4 separate regions of the Homo sapiens genome follow, and all the other regions are linked to region 2. The links are contacts of gene promoters, found by promoter capture Hi-C in human tissues and cell types (Jung and others, 2019). All regions are on one chromosome and are shown on one strand. The core of a region is centred on a gene start or on the middle of the fragment in contact, and the rest is flanking DNA. Distances in the headings are between cores, read along the strand shown.

What was found. The method cuts DNA at HindIII sites, captures the fragments that hold promoters and counts their contacts. A contact is called where the count stands out against the background at its distance.
Region 1: a fragment that was not itself captured here is called in contact with the fragment with the promoter of NT5C1A in region 2 in 1 of the 25 tissues and cell types used here (dorsolateral prefrontal cortex).
Region 3: a contact is called between a fragment that was not itself captured here and the fragment with the promoter of NT5C1A in region 2, in 1 of the 25 tissues and cell types used here (mesenchymal stem cells).
Region 4: a fragment that was not itself captured here is called in contact with the fragment with the promoter of NT5C1A in region 2 in 4 of the 25 tissues and cell types used here (dorsolateral prefrontal cortex, hippocampus, mesenchymal stem cells and 1 more).

What each region holds. Positions count from the first base shown.
Region 1 is chr1:39,538,536-39,545,641 of GRCh38, forward strand. It overlaps the pseudogene PPIEL. Among named protein-coding and RNA genes, the nearest start is that of PABPC4-AS1, 23 kb to the right of the region's middle. The HindIII fragment of the contact is 4,869 bases long and covers 1,854-6,722 here.
Region 2 is chr1:39,669,109-39,675,445 of GRCh38, forward strand. NT5C1A (5'-nucleotidase, cytosolic IA) reads right to left here and starts at 2,999. Exons shown (of 6, transcript NM_032526.3): 1 at 2,796-2,999. The coding sequence starts at 2,930. RefSeq lists a silencer at 2,782-3,191. The HindIII fragment of the contact is 3,595 bases long and covers 1,418-5,012 here.
Region 3 is chr1:39,834,417-39,841,391 of GRCh38, forward strand. LOC105378667 (a long non-coding RNA gene) reads left to right here. Exons shown (of 4, transcript XR_947221.3): 4 at 3,461-3,539. It overlaps TRIT1 (tRNA isopentenyltransferase 1), which reads right to left. Exons shown (of 11, transcript NM_017646.6): 11 at 3,694-6,975. Among named protein-coding and RNA genes, the nearest start is that of LINC02811, 20 kb to the left of the region's middle. RefSeq lists a silencer at 2,487-2,687. The HindIII fragment of the contact is 3,796 bases long and covers 458-4,253 here.
Region 4 is chr1:39,459,133-39,461,832 of GRCh38, forward strand. MACF1 (microtubule actin crosslinking factor 1) reads left to right here. Exons shown (of 101, transcript NM_001394062.1): 91 at 1-117; 92 at 1,500-1,662. Among named protein-coding and RNA genes, the nearest start is that of BMP8A, 31 kb to the right of the region's middle. The HindIII fragment of the contact is 6,947 bases long and covers 1-2,700 here.

The sequences.
Region 1 (7,106 bases), core at 3,038-5,537, 130 kb before region 2:
AGCGTAAGAAGAAAACTGAAGCTGATTAAAAAGAAGAGTGAGGTGGCAGGAAAGCCTGTTTTAGGGAGAGGTCAGGGTAGGCCTCTCAGCCAAGGGGACACATGGGTGGCATCTGAAGGAAGTGGGTGTGAACCATCTGGACAGTGGAGGAAGAACATTCCATGAGAGAAAAGGGCATGTGCAAAGGCCCTGAGGCAGGAGTGAGCTCAGCATGTCTGAGGAACAGCGAGACTGCCTATGGATGCAGAGGGCGAGGGGCAGCACATCCTAGGGGCACAGAGAGGTGCCAGGACCCAAGGTGGGTTAACCCTGTAGGACAGCGTCCCCACGCACAGCGCAGGATGGGTCAGCAGGAGGATGATGTGATCAGATTTATGATTAAAAACAATCACTCTGACTGCCAAGTGAAGATCAGACTATGAGGGTGAAGAAGCCAGGCTGGAAACAGGACTTGGTGGTCGTGGGGGAAGGGTGAAGAGTAGCTGGGCCAGGAGATGACCTGAAGTCAGATAGATGTGGCCTGCAGGTGATGCAGGAGTCCATGATGACGCCTAAGTTTCTGACCAAGCAGCTAAGTGGATGGTGGAGTCATTTACTGAAACAGGGAAAAGGGGGAGGAAGGGTGTGGGGGAGAAGGCCAAGGCCACATTTTGGACATGTGAAGTGTGAGATGCTCGTGGGATATCCAGCAAAGGTGAAAGGTAGGTGGTTGGACAGGAGTCTGGAGCTCAGGGAGCCATCAGCATGGTGACCCATGTGGACAAGCTTAACTCGGTGATTTCACTGAAAGTCCTGGGACTGGGCGGCGTGATTGCCCAGGGCATGGGTTCTCAGTGGTATCATACTGCCCCCTAGGGGCTACCAGAAACTGCAGTCTATTTTTGGTGGTCAGTAATACGGTGCTACTGGCATTGGAAGGAAGGGATCAGGGAGGGACTCTAGATGTCCTGCAGTCTCCTACGTAATGGAGAGTTACTCTAAATCCTGGACTTTCAAAAGCCCTGAATAACATTCATGTAGATAAGAAAAATCTATTTATAATGATCTGAGCCTACACCCTAACTCCATGTTCCATATAAATCCAAAGAATTATTTTTTTGTATCAAATTTTTCCAGAAATCAACCCATCCTGTCACTTTTCATTTCTTTTTGCTCAGAATTTTACCAAGAGATTTTTACTATTTCAAAACATCATGTTACTTTGATTCTGCCAAAACAACACACCTGAATCAGTCCACACTACTAAGTGCAGCTCTAGGCAGAAGTACACATGTTCAAGTACTTCATACATGTAGTTGCTTCCAAGCATTTGAATACTGAAATGCATATTATGTTATTACAAATTGTTTTCCTTTAATTTCCCTTTATATTACAACTATGAAATAATACTGTGGGGTTTTTCGTTTGAGACAGAGTCTCACTCTGTCACCCAGGCTGGAGTCCAAATGGTGCAATCTTGGCTCATTGCAACCTCTGCCTCCCCAGCTCAAGCCATCCTCCTACCTCAGCCTCCTGAGAAGCTGGGACTATAGGTGTTCACCAAGATGCCTGGCTGGTTTTTGTATTTTTTGTAGAGATGGGGTCTTGCCATGTTGCCCAGGCTGGTCTCAAACTCCTGGGCTCAAGCAATCCTCCCACCTCGGCCTCCCAAAGTGCTGGGATTATAGGCGTGAGCCACTGCACCCAGCCAATACCGTGTTTTTAATTAGGCATTCACTGGAAGGGTGCAGAGCTGTGACTTCCATCTCAGCACACTAGAGCATGAGCTGTAAGAGGCAGGTGCTAGGGTAAAAGGGTGAGAACTATTGAGGTAAAGAGTGAATACAGATACAGAAAAGCCATGGTGAGCACTGGGTCCCTCCAAAAATTTAGAGACTAGGAGGAGGAAGAGACAAGGGAAGAGACTGAGGGAAGACACCATGGGGCAAAAGGTAGGAGAAGAGGGAGGCCACCATTGTCACAGGAAGGCAAGCAGGCCAGGCAGGAGAGAATGATGCAGGCAGGGGAGTAGATCTGGCTGCAGGAAGACTAAATAGTTCTCTTCTGATTGTTTCTATAAATAAGCGACACCATCAGCTGAGAGGGAGAGTGTATGAAGCAATGCTGGAGGGCTGAGGAGTGAAGAAAAGGCGTGTTTTCCAGTCAGACGATGGATGACAAGTACCTCCAGCAATCTGGGAGGACCACTGGGCATTGCTCAAGGTGCCCTTAAGACCTGAGCTCCTCAACTCAAGAGGGACCAGATAGCTCAGGGCTGTGCTTTTCTCTAGCACACAGAGTTCTGCACTACGTAAGAAGGAGCACGAGAGAGGCAGCGGGATCCTTGGCAAGAGGAAGGAGAGTGCATGCAGCGACGGCGCGTGAGATGTGAGTGAGGCAACAGGGCAGTGTGGTGTGGGTGGATGGGCAGCGCATCTATGAGTCTAGGACACGTGCCAACCATGAAAAGCCCCAAAAGGATGACGTGCTGTCACATGAGGAAATCTGAATATGCACTGCAGTTGAGAGAATAGTATTGTAGCAGTGTTTGTTTTCTGATTTTGAGAACTATGTCCTGGTAACATTAAAAATACCCTGTTTCTTATGAAATACATGCTGAAGTATTTAGTGGTAGAGGAACATGAACTCTCCAACTTACTTTCAAATGGCTCTAAAAAAATACGCACTGTCTATAAAAATACACAGAAGGAGAATAAATAGGAAATGATGTTCACCAATATAAACAACTGGTGAACTTGAGTAAATGCCAGCAAAGGTGTATGGGGTTCATCGCACTATTCTTGTAACTCTTCCGTGAGCTTGACATTACATAAAATAAAAAGTTACAAAAACAATAACAAGACACCCCTGTAGGAGCAGACCCAGGCGTCTATGCTTCTTCCTCTTTTAATGAAAGGAGACAAATGGGAACTGAAATAACCCAAAATAAAAAACAGAAAAGCTTTTCAAAGCCCAAAGCTAACTCCACCCTAGCAAGGCTGAACGGTTCTCCTGTGTCTGGTAGCTGGGTCTCCTCCAGATTCCCTGTTTCTCAGCCAGAACCACGGCTCATCCTTCCACCCTGCACGGCCAGCTGCCCTCGCCCAGCCTCCCTTGTCACCACACGATGAGTGGTTCCTACCTGGTCCTGTGTGTTTGAAGATAAAGTTTTCATCATCAAATTTCTTCTTGTAGATGGACTTACCCCTGGTGCCACCGTGGTTTGTGAAATCACTGCCCTGGCAAATGAACTGGGGGATAATGCGGTGGAAGCTGCTTCCCTTGAAGCCGAGTCCTTTAAATGGGTGCACATGTAGAGAAAATTCTCTGGGATTGAGAAAGAGAAAAGTGCTGAGGTAAGAATATCTAACTAGATAATTAAAACTCCAGCTCTCTGTAACATGCCATCTCTACAAAAATAAAAATAATCATTTGGGTCCCAGCCACGGTGGCTCATGCCTGTAATCCCAGCACTTTGGGAGGCCAAGGTGGGTGGATCACCTGAGGTCAGGAGTTCGAGACCAGCCTGGCCAACATGGCAAAACCCCATCTCTACTAAAAATACAGAAACTAGCTAGGCATGGTGGCACACTCCTAGGTGACAAAGTGAGACCCTGTCTCTGAAATAAAATACACACACACCCCCAAACTCCAGCTCTCCAAATCTAAAAAAGTACATAGTACCTTTATTTAAACTAAATGCTTAAGTGTGGAAGTGGCACACAAATAGATAGAACAGACTAGGTGAAAAGAAGAGAAAGTCCCGAATAGACCCAGAAACGTATGAAAATTCAGTATTTCAGCTAGGCATGGTGGCTCACATCTGTAATCTCAGTACTTGGGGAGGCCAAGGCAGGAGGATTGCCTGAGCAGAGGAGTTGGAGACCAGCCTGGGCAACACGGCAAGACCTCATCTCTATTAAAATATATACATAGGCCAGGTGCGGTGGCTCGGGTCTGTAATCCCAGCACTTTGGGAGGCCGAGGTGGGTGGATCACCTGAGGTCAGGAGTTCAAGACCAGCCTGACCAATGTGGTAAAACCCTATCTCTAATAAAAATACAGAAAATTAGCTCGGCATGGTGGCATGTGCCTGTAATCCCAGCTACTCGGGAGGCTGAAGCAGGAGAATCACTTGAACCCGGGAGGCAAAGGTTGCAGTAAGCTGAGATCATGCCATTTTACTCCAGCCTGGGCAACAAGAGTGAAATTCCGTCTCAAAAAAAAAAAAAATATATATATATATACACACACACACACACACACATATACAAAAATGTATATATATGTGTATGTATGTATATGTGTGTGTATATATGCATATATATGTGTGTGTGTGTGTGTGTGCGTGTGTATATATATATATATATATAAAGGAATTAAATATTTCATAAAGCTTGGCATCTTAAATCACTGGGTCAAAGATGGACTTTCTATAAACTGGTCTTAGGACAACTGAATAAACATTTGGACTCCCCCACCCAATTATGCTAGGCAGCGATGACCTGAGAAGGTATATAATGACCAGGAGCTCAAATCCCCACAGACAAAGGTCTAGGTCACCCCACCTGATAAGCCATTTAGATTAGCAGAGGAACCAGCTGAGGTGAGGATGAGAGGTATCTAAAATGGATAGCAGAGGAGGGAGGCCAGGCGCCGTGGCTCACACCTGTAATCTCAGCGCTTTGGGAGGCAGAGGTGGGTGGATCACCTGAGGTCAGGAGTTCAAGACCAGCCTGGCCAACATGGTGAAGCCCTGTCTCTACTAAAAATATAAAAACCAGCTGGGCATGGTGGTGGGCGCCTGTAATCCCAGCTACTCGGGAGGCTGAAGCAGGAGAATCACTTGAACCCGGGAGGCGGAGGTTGCAGTGAGCCAAGATCATGCCATTGTACTCCAGTCTGGGATTACTAATAGTAATATGAGTATATTTTTCAGAGACATAGCAATAAAAGCCCAAATAATTAAAATAGTTAAAAGAAATGAATGTTGCCTCTGGCAGGGCAGAAAAATTATGTTGGGGGAGCAGAAGAATGTTTTATTATAGAACGATTTTCTTTAAACTATGTGCAATTATGACTTTAAGAAACATTTTTAAAAGCTAGATTAAGACAAAAAAGATTATGGGTAAAAAAAGGTCATCATGAATACTTAAGAAAAAAAGGAAAACACAACTGTCAATTGTAGCTACCTCTGGGAGATGGGCTGAATAGTAAGGAGAGAAAGTTTTAGTTTCTGATTGATACCCTTAAAAATAGTACTTTTCTGGCTGGGTGCGGCCGCTCATGTCTGTAATCCCAGCATTTTGGGAGGCCGAGGTAAGAGGATCACTTGAGTCCAGTTCAAGACCAGACTGGACAACATGGCAAAACCCACCATCTCTACAAAAAAAAATACAAAAGGGCTGGGTGCGGTGGCTCATGCCTGTAATCCCAGCACTTTGGGAGGCCGAGACGGGCAGATCACAAGGTCAGGAGATCGAGACCATCCTGGCTAACATGGTGAAACCCCGTCTCTATTAAAAATACAAAAAAATTAGCTGGGCGTGGTGGTGGGCACCTGTAGTCTCAGCTAATTGGGAGGCTGAGGCAGGAGAATGGCGTAAACCTGGGAGGCGGAGCTTGCAGTGAGCCAAGATTGCGCCCCTGCACTCCAGCCTGGGCAACAGAGCAAGACTCCGTCTCAAAAAAAAAAAAAAAAAAATTAGCTGGGAAACATAGTGAAACCTCCATCTGTACAAAAAACAATAAAAAATTGGCTGGGCATGGTGGTGCATGCCTGTGGTCCCAGCTACTTGGGAAGCTGAGCTGGGAGGATCACTTGAGCCTGGAAGGTTGAAGCTGCAGTAAGCCGTGATCACATCACCGCACTCCAGCCTGGGCAACAGAACTAGATCCTGTCTCAAAGAAAAAAAAAATAGCATTTTTTCCAGTGAAGACACTTGGCAAATAACTCCTTAACCAAGTCAACAAAATTAACATTGCAAATATCTGAAATAACATCATGTACTTCCTCAAACGATGCACTAACACACTGCTTCTGTGCTATTGATGCCAAAACACATAACCTCAATCTAATCATGAGGAAGTACTAGGCAAATACAAACTGAGGAGCACCCTTAAACACAACTGGCCTATTCTCTTCAAAGATGTCAAGATCAAAAAAGACAATGAAAAATTAAGAAACGGTTTCAAATAAAAGGAGACTAAAGAGACTTGACAACTAAATCAACATGGGAATCCTTGTCAGGGAAGAAAAATTGCTAAAAATTACTAAAAAGGACAATATTGGGACAAGTGATAAAATTTGAATATAGCTCATCACTCAATGTTACATTTTATAATTTTGATAGTTGTACTCTGATTAGGCAAGGGAATATTCTGGTTCTTAGGAAATATATACTGAAGTATTTGGCAGTAAAGGTGCATGGTCTTCAACTTCTCGACTGGAACAGGGGAAAAATACATATACGCATCTGTGTGTAATGTATGTAAAGAAAATGATAAAGCATACAGGGCAAAAAAAGGAAATTAATGAGTAGGTAAAGGATATATGAGAGTTCCCCTAACTGCTTTTTTTCTTTTTTCTTTTTCTTTTTTTTTAAGACAAGGCCTTGCTCTATTGCCCAGACTGGAGTGTGGTGGTGCAATTATGGCTCACTGCAGCCTCAACCTCCTGGGCTCAAGCAATCCTCTTGTCTCAGCCTCCCAAATAGCTGGAACTATAGGCACATCGCACTATACCCGTCTAACTTTGTATTTTTTGTAGAGATGGAGTCTTTTGCTGTGTTGCCCAGGCTGATCTCAAACTGCTGGACTCAAGTGATCCTCCCACCATGGCCTCCCAAAGTGCTGAGATTACAGGTGTGAACCACTGCACCTGGCCCCTTGAAATATTCTTACAGAATTCTTATTCTATATATCTGTAAGTTTGAAAATATATCCAAATAAAATTACAAAAAAAAAAAAACCCAACAATAAAACCAAACCAGAGGATAATTAAAACTGTTTAGAACTTTTAGTTGCCTACCCTTTCTAATGGCTCTAAGCCTTTATAGAGCTTCAAAAATGCCTGCTGTGCCTCATTTGTTACTAGATGCTGGGATCTGAGACGCCTCAGATGGAAA
Region 2 (6,337 bases), core at 1,749-4,248:
GGGTCAGAGTGACTCAAGGGCTCACTCTGGGAGCTCTGAGCTCCAGGAAACCAGGGTGCTGGCAGCTCTCTCTGCCTTTCAGGGTCAGGCTGATGGCTCCGGCTAGGGGATGGGAATGGAAGAATAACAGAGTGCAGCCCACCCCCACCTGGACTTCCTGAGGAGCTCCCATTTAGGCTAACGTAATTCTGCCTATTGGGTCCAAGATAGAAACATAGGCAAAAAGCTGTTATTCCCAGTAGGACTTAGAGAGGGAAGGGCTGCTGAAAGAGAGAGGGACAGGAGAGTTTTGGATTGAAGAAGTGTTCTGACCCCATGAGGTGAGGGCCTCCAACAGGCCTTCAGGCGTTAAATATTTTACTCAGGCCCCTGGGAATGAGAATTAGCCCAGGCCAGGCCATGATGGGGCCCATGAGGCCTAGAGCCCCCAAAATAGCCTGTGGGAAGAGGGGCTTCTGCAGGAAGGAATAGGAGCTGGGAAGCCTCCAGGCTTCTTGCCTCCCAGAGAACCATGAGAGTCAGGGGCTGATCCAGGGGTCATGACTGACAACTGGGCCTGAGCTCTCCGGTTCCTTGGTGCCTGGGGAGGAAATGGATTTTGAGCACTGATGCTTTCACTGCCCCAGTCCCCAGTCTCCATCCCTTCTTCTGCATCACTCAGGCCACAGCATTGACATTCATCCAGCTTCCTCTTCAGAGAGGCACCAGCCTTCTCACTGGTGGGTTTGCTGCCGGACTCACCCTTTCCAATCCATCCCAGAGTGATCTTTCTAAAATAAAAATGGGACCCAGTTAATCCCCTGATGAAAAATCCTGTAATAGCTCCATAATGGTATTCATATGTTTGTTTAAATGTAGGTTGACCTTTTATTTAAATGAATTCAAATAAACTTTGAATTCAATATGTAAGCCAGATATTACCATATATCTCATACCATATGGTACCAGATATAACATATATAATTGGTGTTTATTTATTTTACAGATTCAAATGCATTACATTTATTTATTTATTTATTATAAAGTCAACCAATGAAAACAACACAGTTGTTTGCATGACAACAAATTTGAAACTAGCGGCTAGAATGCCAGTGCAGACTTAAGCTTCAGCATCCGGCCAAGTTGTTGCTGTGTTTGTATTTGTACAGTATTGAGAAAGTCCTGATTCAGACCAATAAGTGGTTGGAAATGCTAAAAGGTTTTTTGTTTTGGTTTGTTTTAAACTAAAGGCCTTACAATCTCAAGACGCTCTTTGATGGAACAGATCACAGGGGAAGCCTTATTCTGAGCTTTGCTTTAAAAAAATCTGCAGCACAAGCTAGTGGCCTTCAAGCTGCTAAAATGTCCACCTAATACATTAGAGTGAGTTGGGTTTTATTACACATTTTTAATTGTTTAAAACATAGTCCGAAGAAGAAAGAAAATAAATTGGATTCACATGTGTGCAGACTCCCTGAAACATGGGGCTTGGGGAAGCTAGTTTGGAAATCCCTGACCCCCTTGAGTAAGGTCCAGACTCCTTAACATGATCCCCAAGGCCCTCTGTGGGCTCTTCCACATCCCTCCAGCTCTTCTTCCAACAATCCTGCATTCTTCATTCAGTACTTATTCAGGAACACAGTCCTGAGCTTCAGAGACATCTGCATGACTTTTGCCTGTCCTGTTTCCCTCTCCCTGGGAAACTCCACCTACTCAGGCTTTAAGATCAGGATACGTGCCACTTCTACAAAGCTTTCCCCAGTGTGATGTCACTACTCTACTCCCCCCCCAACTCCCCTAGGCTCTCATCTCTGGAGCCTCCATCATTGTGCAGTGAGCTCCTGAGGCAGGGACTCAGGTTATTTAATTCTTCAATCCCCACTCTTGAGCAGAGCTTGGAGGTGCTAATTGAATGATTGCTGATAGGGTGGACCTGTTGGGGAAGGGTTCTTGGAGGGAAGCAGCAAATTGCTTTAAGATCAAGCTGGAGCTCTTTGGAGGACCGCTGTGGGCCAACCTCTATTCTCGGTTTTCTCCTCAAGCTCTGAGATCTGGGAAGTTGGAGACAGCAAGGTCCAGGGGCAGACCAGGGCATCATCAACTTGTTTGATGGCAGAGAGGAGAGAGCTCCTCTGTGAGGTCCCAGACGGTTGACACCACCACAGGGTCGTGGGGATGTTAATGCCCACTGCAAGGGGAGCAGAACCCGAGCTGGGGGGCAGAGTCCAGCGCTGGGAGCCTGCGGCCAGGGGCGCCGATCGCCCCCCAGCGCAGAGTGTGGATCCCAGTGCCTGGAGAGAGCAGCTCCCTTTCCTTAGGACGCGGGGAGCGCACTGCCCCCAGCCCAGGGCCCAGGACCCAGAGCCAGACCCCAAACGCAGAGTCTCAGGTCCGGAGCCCGATGCCCAGATGGCGGAGACCGGAGCGCACAGCCAGGAACCGGGTTCCCAAAGTCTGGTTACCCGCGCCTGGGGCGCTTCTGGAAGCGCTGCGGACCAGCTTCGCCAACAAGTGCAATCCGCGCTCCCCGGCGGCCCGAGTGGGGAGGGGCTGGGGCTGCGGGCCTCTAGCTGGGCCCTGATGACAGCATGGGGGAGGGGGAGCCTGGCGTGGAACCCGAGTCCCGGTAAAAAAATACACCAGAGCAGAGCTCCCAAAATAAACCCGAGCCCGCGCCAGCTGCAGGGCGCATTCTGGGGCTGAGGAGCTGCGTCCCCTCCCAGAGGGGCGCCACGGGTCCCTTCCCAAGAGACTTATGACCCCTCCTCCGGGGTAACCCTTCCCCCGTCCCCCGCATACCCGTGCATTGCTTTTACCGATTTGGGTTTCTTCTTGGGCGCGAGGTTGTCGTAGAAAATCTTGGCTTCCTCCCAGACCGGGGCCGCAGCGGTCTCCGCTCCTGGCCCGGGCTCGCGGGGCTCCTGGGGCTCCCGGGGCTGCCCAGGTTCCATGCTCCGGCTCTGACCCGGCCCGGCCAGAGCAGGCGGCGGCGTAGACGCGGAGGTGGCTGGGGCTGGGCTGCAGGAGGGAGGCGAGTCCCGGCGAGGGAAGGGGGCGGGCAGCGGCGAGGAGGCTGTGCGTGTGAGCTGGGCTCCCCGCCCGCCGGGCGGGGGGAGGTCACACTGGCCCTCTCGGTCGCCCGTGTGTCGCTGCCGCTGCTGCTGCTACTGCTGTACGGTATGAGGGATAGCTGGGCTCTCCTTCCCCGACCGACCCACGCCAGCAGCCGGTTGGGTGGTGAGGGGGGCTCTCTGGCTCTCTGGGTTTGTGGGCTGCAGCGGATTGGGGATTGCGAAAATGATGTTCTTCGCAGGCGCTGCAGGGCGCGGAGACAGGAGAGGCCTGACAACTTTTTTTTTCCCCCAGGATAGTGATCCCCAAAGGACAAAATGAAAAGCTAGCCGCTCCCCTCCCAAAAGCTAGCTGCCCATCTTTCCTTTAGGAGCTAGGACCCTGGGATCCTGACGATGTCCCCTTCCCTCCGAGGCCAGTCCATCCGGCAGACGGGCAGGAGGTGATGCATGGATGGCTCCTCTCACTAGCAGAAGCCTGCTCCCAGCGGGAGCTCAGTGAAGGGCCCAACCCGGCAGCTCCTCCACACCACCTAGGAGGGGCCCTTGAAGTCCATGTTGAGACCAGGCTCGGGTGGTCTCAGGTCGAGACCTTGGCCTGGGGTGGGGACCCAGGCCAGAGAGACTCCCAGGGACTCTGAACCCGAATTCTTGCTGGCCCTTTGGTGGTCAGCAGAGGGCGCGCATTCCTAGGCCCCCACCTGCCCAGCTTGGGGTGATTTGTTATAGGCCATGAAGGGGCTGGATAGAGGGAGGGCAGAAGAGGGGCCTCGGAACTACCATCCTGGAATTCCAGGGTGTTGTCCCTCTTGATGCAGAGCTCTGTACTAGTCTCAGGGTGCAGACACAAATGTCACCCATCCCAAGGTACAGGCCAGGAAGCAGACAGCCTCTCTCAGAGGTGTGCATGGGTGGGTGGGAGAAGCAGGAGAAAACACTGGCTTAGCTAGGAGGGCCTCTGACTGGGGAGGTGAGGGGGCTACAGAATGGAGTGATCCCCTCAGCCTCCACCAGGTCCTGGGAGGAATAAACCAACCCTTGTGTGGGAGGAAGGGAAAAATCATAATAAAATGTTAGGATTGGGGGAAGTGTGTTTAGACTTACTTCTAGAAGATTGTTTCCAGAGATGGCCCAAAAACCTCTTCCATCCTGCCTGTCCTTTGGAAATGTGACTTTGACATTCCTCCCATTCAGAGGTGGAGTCCAGTCTGAGCTGGCCCTGTGACTTGCTTTGACCAATTGAATGGAGTAGAAGTGGTGCTCTGTGGTTTCCAAGCTTACGTCTTAAGAGGCCTTGCAGATTCCATTTTTGCCCTCTTGGGAGCCAGCTACTATGTAAATAAGTCTGGACTATCCTGCTGGAAAGGCCACGTAGTGAGACAGATAGGACCTGGAGGATAAGAAGCTAGCGACAGCCCAGGTGACTATAGGCACAATTGACAGACATGTGAATGAGGCCATCCTGGCTGTCCCAGCCCCAGCTCAGCTCCCAGTGGAGTGCAGCTATGTGGGTGACGCCAGCCAACACAACCTGAAGCAGTAAAACCTTCCAGCTGAGCCCAGCCAACTCACAGAATCATCAAAAATAATAAATTGTTGTTTCAGGCACCAAGTTTTGGGGTAGCTTGTTACACTGCAATAAATAATTGAAACTCTAGGAATGAGGTCAATTATTCTCAGGTGCCTCATGGAGAAGAATGATGAAGTAACTCAGGAAGAATACATAGAGTGGTTACTTGGATGGAGGTGGGCACTTCACACAAAAGTGAGCCACCCCCATGCTGTCCAGCGGCCTTTAATCTGTGTGATTGGCTTGAAAAGATGACCTGGGCCAAGCAGATTTGTCTTTCTCAGGAATTTGGAATTGGGAAATGGGCTGGGCAGTCAACCATTGGAATAGAAGCTGAGGATGCTGTGAAATACAGTTGGCTCCGAAGAGACCTGGGTGAGCCTCAGCAGACTGCAGTTATATGCAAAGTAAAGCTCGGCGCAGGTGGAGACTCTCTGAGCAGAATGAGATGAGCAGCAGATCAAGATGGGAAAGGATGTGCAGAGAGCAGCACATGAGAGAAACCATGCTGCCCTGAGATGGAGCCGCCTCTGCTCCTGACAGTTTCCCAAGTTCTAGCTAAGGCCTGGCTCTGGTGCCCATCTCTACACTTTCATGAGATTCTCCACATTGTTTCAACAAATGCCCCCAAAAGGAAATTTGGTGGATTGTGGTTTTGCTTGAGTGGCCACTTTTCCCGGCCTCTCTTTCTAATAAAAAGCCCTGCCTCCCTGGTTTTCTGGTCAAGAAGTACCAGACCTGGTACAGAGACCTGTAACTGAGACCTGACCAATGGCGGAGCCCTGTGTCCCTGGACACAAGGATGAGCATGTGACCCCAGCTGAGACACTCTTCACTCTTATTTAGGGCTTCTGGGAGATTTGGCTCTTTTTCTCTGAGGTTGTTAATTTGGGGCAATGTGAGCTGGGAACCCATTTGGCAGGTGAAAGAACATGGAAGAAGCACATCTGGAAGGACAATGGTGCCACAGAGAGAGAAGCAGAAGGAGGGAGGGAGAGAGGATGCAACTGAGTTTCTGGACCCAGCCATGCCTGAACTTCCCAATTACATGAGCCAATAAGCCTCCCTTTTTGCTTAAGCTTGTGTGAGTTGGATTTCGTTCACTTGCAACCAAAAGTCCCAACTAATCCATTCCCCTTTACTCACCCTGCCATGAGTAGGCACTGTTCCTTGCCATCAAGGAATCCTGCCCAGACTCCTGGTTCAGTCCCTTTAAGAACTTTCCCCGGGCCGGGTGCGGTGGCTCATGCCTGTAATCCTAGCACTTTGGGAGGCCGAGGTGGGTGGATCACAAGGTCAGGAGTTCAAGACCAGCCTGACCAACATGGTGAAACTCCATCTCTACTAAAAATACAAAAATTAAAACTGGGTGTGGTGGGGTGCGCCTGTAATCCCAGCTACTCAGGAGGCTGAGGCAGGAGAATTGCCTGAACCCGGGAGGCAGAGGTTGCAGTGAGCCGAGATCATCGTGCCACTGCGTGCCAGCCTGGGTGACAGAGCGAGACTCTGTCTTAAAAAAAAAAAAGAACTTTCCCCAGATCCTTCTTTGGAAGGATTAGAGAACTTGATCCTTAACTGTTCTTTCCACCCTTCCAGGCTTCTGGCCATGCTCTCTGGCTTGCCTGTCACTTGCTAATAGCTGGCTGGGTGCAGGGCTTCCCTGGCTCAGGGTTTCTGGACTCCAGCCAGGACTTTGCCTCCAGGTCCAGCACTTCTT
Region 3 (6,975 bases), core at 1,106-3,605, 160 kb after region 2:
TTGGGACTACAGGCACACACCATCACACCCAGCTAATCTGTTTATTTTTTGTAGAGATGGGCTCTTACTGTGTTGCCCAGGCTGGTCTTGAACTCCTGGGCTCAAGCGATCCTCCTGCCTTGGCCTCCCAAAGTGCTGGGATAACAGGCACAAGCCACCATGTGCAGCCCTTAGATTCACTTTTTTTTTTTTTTTTTTTTTTGAGATGTAGTCTCACTCTGTCGCCCAGGCTGGAGCACAGTGGCGTGATCTCGGTTCATTGCAACCTCCACCTCCTGGGTTCGAGTGATTCTCCTGCCTCAGCCTCCCAAGTAGCTGGGATTACAGGCCTGCGCCACACCCAGCTGATTTTTGTATTTCTAGTAGAGACAGGGTTTCACTATGTTGGCCAGACTGGTCTCGAACTCCTGACCCCAGGTGATCCACCCGCCTCAGCCTCCCAAAGTGCTGGGATTACAGGTGTGCACCACCACACCCGGCCTAGATTCACTCTTGATGGACAACTGGGCTGCTTCTACCCCTTGGCTATTGTAAAGAACGCTGCTATGCAGAACAAGGGTGTATCTCCCTGAGACCCTGCTTTCAGGTCTTTGGGATATATCCCCAGAGGGGGGACTGCTGGATCATATGGCGGTTCCCTTTTTAATTTTCTGAGGAACTGCCATACTATTTTCCACAGCAGCTGTACTATTTTACATTCTCACCAACAGTGCAAAGGGTTCCAATTTTTTCACATTCTTGCCAACACTTGTTATCTTCTGGGTTAATTTGTTTTGTTTTGTTTTATAGCAGCCATTCTAATGGGTACGGGGTGTCCTAGGGCTTTTGAACTTAGAACCAGAGAAAACATCCGCACAATCTGTCCCCAGTTGTCAAGGCCATAAGAGGTGAAACACAGGTGCTACTAGCAGCCCTGTCTCCTGCCATGTAGAGAAAGCCTGTTTACAGTGAGAGAGGAGTGAGCTGATTTGCAGAGAAAAGAGAAAGTCTCTAAAGCCTCAGATTGGGTAGTACAAGTTGTGGCTGGAGCCTAGATACTTTCCTGCCCTTGAATTTGATGAGACACCTCATTAACCCAATCATAAATCCACCTTTTTACTTAAGTTAGAGTTGTTTCATTTGCAACCATGATTCTTGCCATAAACATCTTTGTACAAGAGTTAGTTCTTCAGTCTTTTCTTTTTTTTTTTTTTAACCTTTTCTTCCTTTGATTCTTTCTTAGAAGTAGATGGGATATAAATAATTTGTACATTCAAAAACCCTAAATTTGTACATTCAAAAACCCTAAAGAAATGCCCTTGCAGAAGTAGAGGGTTGTGGTTAGAGTATGAGTTTGGAGTCAGCCCAAACTGGCTTCAAATCCTAGCTCAACAAATGTTTATGGGATGTGTTAACTAACTTGATGGTGGTATAGATAGATAGATGGATAGACAGATAGATAGATAGATAGATAGATAGATACACACATACATATATACACATATATAAAATCACTTTATATAGTTTAAATATATATAATTTTATCTGTCGATTATATCTCAATAAATCTGGATAAAAATAAAAGGCTGACTTCAAGTAAAAAAACAAAAACACAAATAAGTGCTTTTAAGCAGCAGGCCCTTGTAGATGCCAGGGATAAAGCAGTGAACAACAGACAAACATCGCTGCCCTCACCAAGCTTTATCTCTGCTACTCGGCAAATATTTGCATGTTTACTCTGTGCCAACCACTGTTCATTAAGCTGTGTTTATAAAATGGTGATAACAGATTATCTTGTCCGTTTGTTTTAAGGAATCATTATAACGTATGCATGTGCTTGATATAATGCCTGACACACAGAAGCACTCAACACAGAGAAGCCATGTCTACGTTTAGACAGGGAGGTGTGTCTTGCAGAAATTAGCCTCGATATACATTGGGTGCCCACTATATGTTCCACAATCATCTTAAAATAGTACTCAGATCCTGGCAGAATTTACTTTCCAGTGGGAACAAGAGATAAATAACAGGTGCTATGAGCTGTGGCAAAATAATGAGCCAGAACAGACTCTGGAGCCACCCACCTATTTTCAAATCCCAGCTTGCCCTTGGGAAAGTCACCTAACTGCTCTACTCAGTTTCCTCAGTTGTAAGACAGAGACAACAAGAACAATGACAAAACTACCTCATAGGGCTTTGTGAGGATTAAATGAGTTAATATGTGTAAAAGTGCTTAAAGCAGTGCCTAGCTCATAGGACTACCTAAGCACCAGCTAATGTTAACACTATTACGTATTAACTGCTAGGAGGAGAAATTAAGTCTCCCTAGAGTCAAAGAAGCTTTTTCTAAGGAGAGGACATCAGATCTGGGCCTTGAAGGATGTGCAGGAGTTCACTAGGTAAAGAGCAGGGGAAAGGACATTTCAAGGGAAGAAAACAGTTCAAGCAAATGAGCTGACCCATGGAAGAAATCATATCATTGAAACAAACAAAACTTAACAGCTGAAGCCTAGGTGGGTGGCAGCTGAAGCCCGAGGCACCGTTTCTGGCCATTAGTACTATAGTCCACCAAACTAGTCAGTCTTAAGTCAGAGCTTGCCCTGATAACTTCCAAGAAATGATACCATATCATAAACCAACATTTTAATAGCATTAACAATTTTTCCCCAATGAAGCAAATAAATCCAATTTGTACTTACCATTTACTGGGCACTACAGTGCCAAAACACTATGCTATTTACAACAGGACCTCACTTAATCCTTACCATGTCCCGTGGAATACAGATAACTTCATTTTATACATGAGGAAACAGGCTTTTAAGCAATATTCCCAAGATCACACAGATAGTATATTAGAAAGTAAAGTGTTCAGCTGCAAATACAAATAGTGGTTTCTTTCTCCCCCTGTCCCCTCCCTGCCACATAAAGTCTGAAAGTAGGCAGTTAAGTCATTAGTTCAGTTATTCAACAATGCCACCAAAACACCTTCCATCTTTCCTCCCCACCATCTTTACAGTATGAGCCACTGGCCCTGATGTTTATACAGTCTCCCATTCCCTATAATGCTTTCTTATTCTCATCTTAAAGTCCTACCAGCCAGGATTTTCTCAAGCTTTACTTTTTGAAATATTTCAGAGGTCAGCTCAATACAACTCACTAATTTCACAGATGGAGAAATAGATTTGCCCCTAGCAAACTGAGTTAAATTAATTAGTTAAATGAGCCTGGAATTGAGTGCTCCTTCCATGATACCAATCTAGTGGTGACTGTAAGTTGCCCACCAAAACCTGTCCTCCCATTCCTTCTTGGCACATGGCTTGACTACGTTTCTCAGCCTTCCTGGCAGGTAGGTGTGGCCATCGGGCTAAGTCATTGCCAATGGAAAGTGAGAATGTAGGCAGAAGTATCCGTGCCACTGCAGGGTCCAGGCCTTGAGGCAGCGGGTCTACCTCCTCCCTGTTCCTTTTCCCCTTCCCATCAGCTAGGACCAGTGATGACCCAGCTTCAAGCATGCAGCAGATGAGGACAATGCTCCAGAGGATGGAGAAGCAACATGATACGAGGAATCTGTGTCCCTGAATGACCATTTGGTGCACAGCTGCCCCAATGACCTGGATCACTCACTTCAGACAGGTTAATTCCCTTCAGAGCTGTTACGTGAGAAAGAATAAACTTCTTTGTTCTTTAAGCCACTGTATTGTTGAGTCTCTTTGTTATAGCAACTTAGCCTTTTACCTGAACTAATACAAACATGCAGCTTCCTTTGTAAGCATTCAGAGTAGCTTTACAAATAACCAGTTAGCCATCATTTTAGAAAACAGCCTTAACTGCCCAAGTAGGTGATAATCAAATACAGAAATTCCTGCTGGTGGCTATCCCAAAATTTCTTCATCCTGGTTAAAAAGTATTTAACAATTGAAGCAGATCACTTATGTAGAGACCTACTTAGTTTTTATGCTTTCATGCAATTGATTCAACAAATATTTGACTGTGTCTAGGTGCTAGGGATATTGACAAGTCACTGCATTCATAAAAGGTTGATTTCATGCATGTGTGTTTGGGGGAGGGGGTTGTTAGTTTTATTTTCTTTTTGAGCAACATGGTCTTGCTCTGCCACCCAGGCTGGAATGCAGTGGCATGATCATGTTTCACTGAAGCCTCAATCTCCCAGGCCCAAGCCATCCTCCTACCTGAGCCTTCCACGTAGCTGGGACTATAGGCATGACCCACCATACCCGGCATGCATACATATATATATATGTAAGTATGTATGTATGTATATATTTGTGCTGACTGGGTCTCACCATGTTGCCTAGGCTGGTCTCAAACTCCTAGGCTTGAGTGATCCTTCTGCCTCAGTTACCCAAAGCGTTGGGATTACAGGCGTGAGCCACCACTCCCGGACTGTTATTTTTTAATGTTATACTGGGTGTTTTGTTTTGTTTTAAGCAAAAAAATCCTCTTTGGAACTAAAGAGAGCTAAGAGAGGACAAAAAATTACTGAGAGTTAGGAAGGATCAAGCCATATTCCTGGAATACAGATGAGCTGTTCTCTTGCTTAGCCCTAAGAATCAAGCAAAGTATTTTCAAGTCTAGATCTCTCTTCAGAATCAAAGTACTTTCTACCCACTTACAACAGCACTGCCTGAACTGTGAGAAGTATCTAAAGCCTAATCAAGATTTTTACTGACAGAAGCAGATGAACCTAATAGCTCACTGAGTATTGGAATTAATTGCCAAAGCCATTTAGATAGCACTGCTGGTGTGATGGACTGGAGGCTCTGGATACCTGGACTGGAGGGCTCTGCTTGCCTTGGGATTGCTATGGCCAGATGGTACAAAATGGCATTCCTCATTCTCACTCCAGGCTGAGCAAATAGCCCAAAGCTCTATGGTACTTTTCAGCTCTCAAATGAGATTTGGTATGAGATTTAGTAATAGAGTAAGAAAGGTGATCTAAGGTTTGTCCCAGCTTTGCCTTGCTCTGTGACTGGAACATCCATGTTTTAGGCCTCAGTTTCCCCATCCATACAAGAGATAAAGAATTCTTTCATCTCTACATTTACGACCACCACAAGACAAATTACTTTCCTTCCCTACACTCAACAGCGAAGTCATTCATAGGGGAGCAGGCACAAAAGGGGAAATCTACTCAGGGCAATGCTTCAGACCAGAGCACCAGGCAGATTTCTAGTGAGTGTTCTGCCTTTCCCAGGCTCTTTGCTGCTGATAAAGGAATTTCATTTGGCTGAATTTACAATTTCTAAGAATATGAACAGTGGGCTCAACCACACTGCCTTACACTTAGTAAGTGCTTCATAAATATTAGACACTTTTTTTTTGGTAAAAAAGGCCTGATTTCCAATTGCCATAGAGATAACAATGAGTTCAATGAGAAGTTACTGCTCCAGGTATTTCAGATGGAAGGATTAAAAGCTTTTTGACGTACAATTATTAAAACTAGTTTTTCCTGCTTGTCTACTGAAACCTTTTTAGGCTTTAAAACATACTTAGCAACTTGAACGAAGAATATTTCAGAGAAACTAAAGGTTCTTCCCTACAAACTGCCAGCTTAACACAGTGCTTAATAGCTTGAGTCTACCAGCCTCACCTCAATTCCAGCTCTACCGCTTGCTAGCTGTACTCCATTGCTGAGCCTTAGTTTCCTCCCTGGTTAACAGCAAAGGAAACAGCATCTCCCTCCCAGGGCTGTGTGAGAAGATAACATATAAAAACGACTTGGCACTGCTTGGCTCACAGTAAGTACTCATCTCCACTCCCACCGGGAAGATGTGGCTTCCCACCTTGTTAGGTCCTAAAGTAGTTAATAAACTTCTTTGCCCAGAGAATAAATTTATTTTTGAGATTCAAATCAGTTAAAAGTGGGTGAGGCTCTGGAATTCAGCACTGTTTAAAAAGGTCAATCAAGTTAGATAGTTTTTTTACTCTACCTTCTCCTCTATGAAGTCTTATATGCATAGGAAACAAAACATTTATCAAGAATTGCTTTTCAAGGTGCAGCAGAAATGCTCCTCCTTCCATGATCCCTTCCCTTCCTTCTAAACTGAAATTCTACACAGCTCTTACGGCCTTTGATACTGTCTTGCCTGGATTGGTGTTTGTGTACACATGCAATTATTTATAAGCTCCCTGAAGGCAAGAACCACATCTCATCTCTGCATTCCCTTTAGCCTAATTCAGGGCCTCTCATAGAGTAGATTCTGCACAAACAAAATGTATTTGAATGGGGAGTTAACGCTTAAAGGGCACAAAGTTTGTTTGGAGTGACAAAAACGTTTTGGAAATAGTGGCAACGATTGCACAACATTGTGAATGTAGTTAATGCTGCTGAATTATACCCTAAAAATGCTATATTTGATGTTATATATAAATAAGTATCTGTTTAACATTGCTGGCAGCTCAGGTCACTCCAGAAAGAGGGCTTCAATTGGAAGTAATAGATCTCCAATAAAAGACCCTCTCTAGATGTCTTCAAGGACTATAACGTGTTAAATAAACACCCGCTACATAAATGAACAGACAGCATGATCTACAAAAAGTGTCAAATTTGAGAAAAAGCTATCACATTGATAACAGAGCATACTGTGTATAAACTAGGCATGGACTTGTATATCTTTTTAAGGATCAAAGAGGCTCTTGTAAATTTTTTCTTTATTTAAACTTCAATAAAAATATAGATTTGTAACTCAATAGAAAGACAGCAGTGATAATAACTCACACATGAGCAGCTCGCAAATTTCAAAGTCTTTGGTCTTCAAGTCCTATGTCACAGCTTCCTCAGTCTGATTCCCTCCTTCTCTGTAGAATTCTGAGAACTAGTTTGGTTCACTTAATCATCTCAATGGAGATGGCCCTTTCCTGCCATTCACTCAAATCTAGAACTCCCAATATGTGGCTCACAAATACTTCAGTCATCTACAAAAGCATCTGGAAATTAGATAATTTTAGCCAGAGTCAGGGACATAAAACTTCTTT
Region 4 (2,700 bases), core at 1-2,500, 210 kb before region 2:
CAGTCTGAAGCAAAAAACCCACGGATCAACCAGCTTTCTGCCCGCTGGCAGCAGGTGTGGCTGTTAGCACTGGAGCGGCAAAGGAAACTGAATGATGCCTTGGATCGGCTGGAGGAGGTAATGCCCTGCTGAGTGGCCTTCCCTGAAACAAAGTGCTTTTTTCAATCAAAACACAGCCCTTCTGAGGCTCTCTTAATGTGAACCTTGTGTCTTAATTTACTTTTTCACAATAGAAACAGACCTATACCAAGCCAGTACTCATTCTTTGAGGCCCCTGAATGAGAAAAGACACATGTGTAAGAAAACCGTTTGTGACAGAGTAGGCTAAAGCTTCTAGGTGTGGAAAGCAAGAAAACAGCCAGTCCATAATGAGGGCCAGGACCTGATCTGCCTCAGCATCTTGCTGTGGTTGGGAATCAGGAACAGAACTTTGGAAATTTATCTCCAGATATGTAGCATAGCACAAAAATGACCCTTGTTGAGCCTTTCATGTAAAAACAGATGCTACAGAATTATGAAATAGGAGTAATTTTTAATGATTTTGTTATTAGTCTTCACTTGATCATGAGAAGCAACTCTATTTTGAAGTGTCATTACCCAGTATAAAAAATATAGTACTATGCTTCCTAGTTTCTAAAACAAGCCTCTAATATCTTTTGTATTTTTTTATTTGTGCATATCAAAGCAGCTATGCCTGGAAGTGAGTGTTCTGTGTTTTGTTTATTTTTTCCTTAGGTCAGTTGACTTTTAAGCTTATTGGGTTCTTGGTGCTTTTTTCCCCCATTCCTTCTAACTTTGGAGTTTGAAAGACCAAGGGGAAACTGCTGCACTCTTTAAGTCATTTTGAGTGTATATCATTAACGTAGACTTAAGTAGCTGAAAATTGTCTTGCCCACTGCATAGGCCTGCTGTTTTCCATCAAGGCCAAATATTTAACATGGAGGTCAGATGGGCAATTTGCTCTCTGGTGCCATTCCAAAGAAACATGCTTGGATACAACATTGGGTTCCCAATGCTTCCATCCAGAACTCAGATTTTCTCATTGAAATCTCAGAAGATAGTGGTAAACACGAGCCTCCTGATATGAGCCCTATGTGTGATTATAATGCCTTTCAAAACAACATAATCGAGGAGTGCTAAGGACCTCCCTTCTGGGTTAGAATCCATTTCCTTGCATCTAAGAGAGTGATCCTTTGAAAAGCCCAAAGGGAAAGCAAGGCTGGCTTCACCCATTCTCATTCTGTGTGCTCCATATTTTCCATGGTGATTCAGTTATTGTTTCTCTTGCTATTCCATTATACCATAGCTCGTGTAAATAGTCATGGCTTTAAGTGAAAGAGCCAGATTGTGCCTTCACAAAAGAAGCAAACACATAGATTTCATTGTTGATGGCCCCTGGAAGCATGGCTTTACTGAATGTCTGAAAGTTTGGGTATGCTCTGGGCAGCTTTTGAGGGCCCAAAAAATAAATCTTATTGACACTTCTGATTTCTGTGTAGTTGAAAGAATTTGCCAACTTTGACTTTGATGTCTGGAGGAAAAAGTATATGCGTTGGATGAATCACAAAAAGTCTCGAGTGATGGATTTCTTCCGGCGCATTGATAAGGACCAGGATGGGAAGATAACACGTCAGGAGTTTATCGATGGCATTTTAGCATCCAGTGAGTCTAGTCATCATTCCAAACATGGGTCACACCTGGATTCCTTGCACTTTGTAGAAGCTGTGATATTCTAGCTAAACAGTCTTTCTGAAGCTGGCCAGGAGCTTGGCTCACACCTGTAATTCCAGCACTTTGGGAGGCAGGTGGCAAAGGCATGGTGGCACACTTGCAGTCCTAGCTACTTGGGAGGCTGAGGTGAATCACCTGAGCCTGGGGAGGTCAAGGCCTGCAGTAAGCTGTAATCGTGCCAGTGAACTCTAGCCTGGGCAACAGAGTGAGACTCTGTCTCAAAAAAAAAAAAAAAAAAGACAGTGGTTAACCAGAGGTTTTCAGCTGGGAAACAATATGATTTGGTCTGTGTTTTAGTAAATCACTGTGACTACTATAAATAGTCACACTTCCCTTTGTATAGCAATTTGTTTAGAATCTAAGACAATAATCTAAACATAGGAAAACTTCATGCTATTCCAAACTGTCACTATTCTGAAATAATCTAAATATCCAATAATTGTGGAGTGGATGAGTATATTCTTGAGTTGAGTGGTAGGACTGTGGGTGGTTGTAATATTATGTTTATGCCTTTTGGTATATTTGAAATGGGGAATATTACCTTTTTTCGTTGCATTTGGGGTAGGGGAGTCTATAAGTGGATATGTATTATTTTTCAGGAAAAATCAAGACATAAATTTTTTTGCTCTTAAGAAGTATTTCTGGCCAGGCGTGGTGGCTCGCGCCTGTAATCCCAGCACTTTGGGAGGCCAAGATGGGTGGATCACTTGAGGCCAGGAGTTCAAGACCAGCCTGGCCAACATGGCAAAACCTCGTCTCTACTAAAAATACAAAAAAAATTAGCCGGGCCTGGTGACAGGCGCTTGTATTCCCAGCTACTCTGGAAGCTGAGGCAGGAGAATCACTTGAACCAGGGAGACGGAAGTTGCAGTGAGCCGAGATTGCACCACTGCACTCCAGCCTGGGCGACAGAGCAAGACCTTGTCTCAAAAAAAAAAAAAAAAAAAAAAAAAAATCTATAACCGCCAA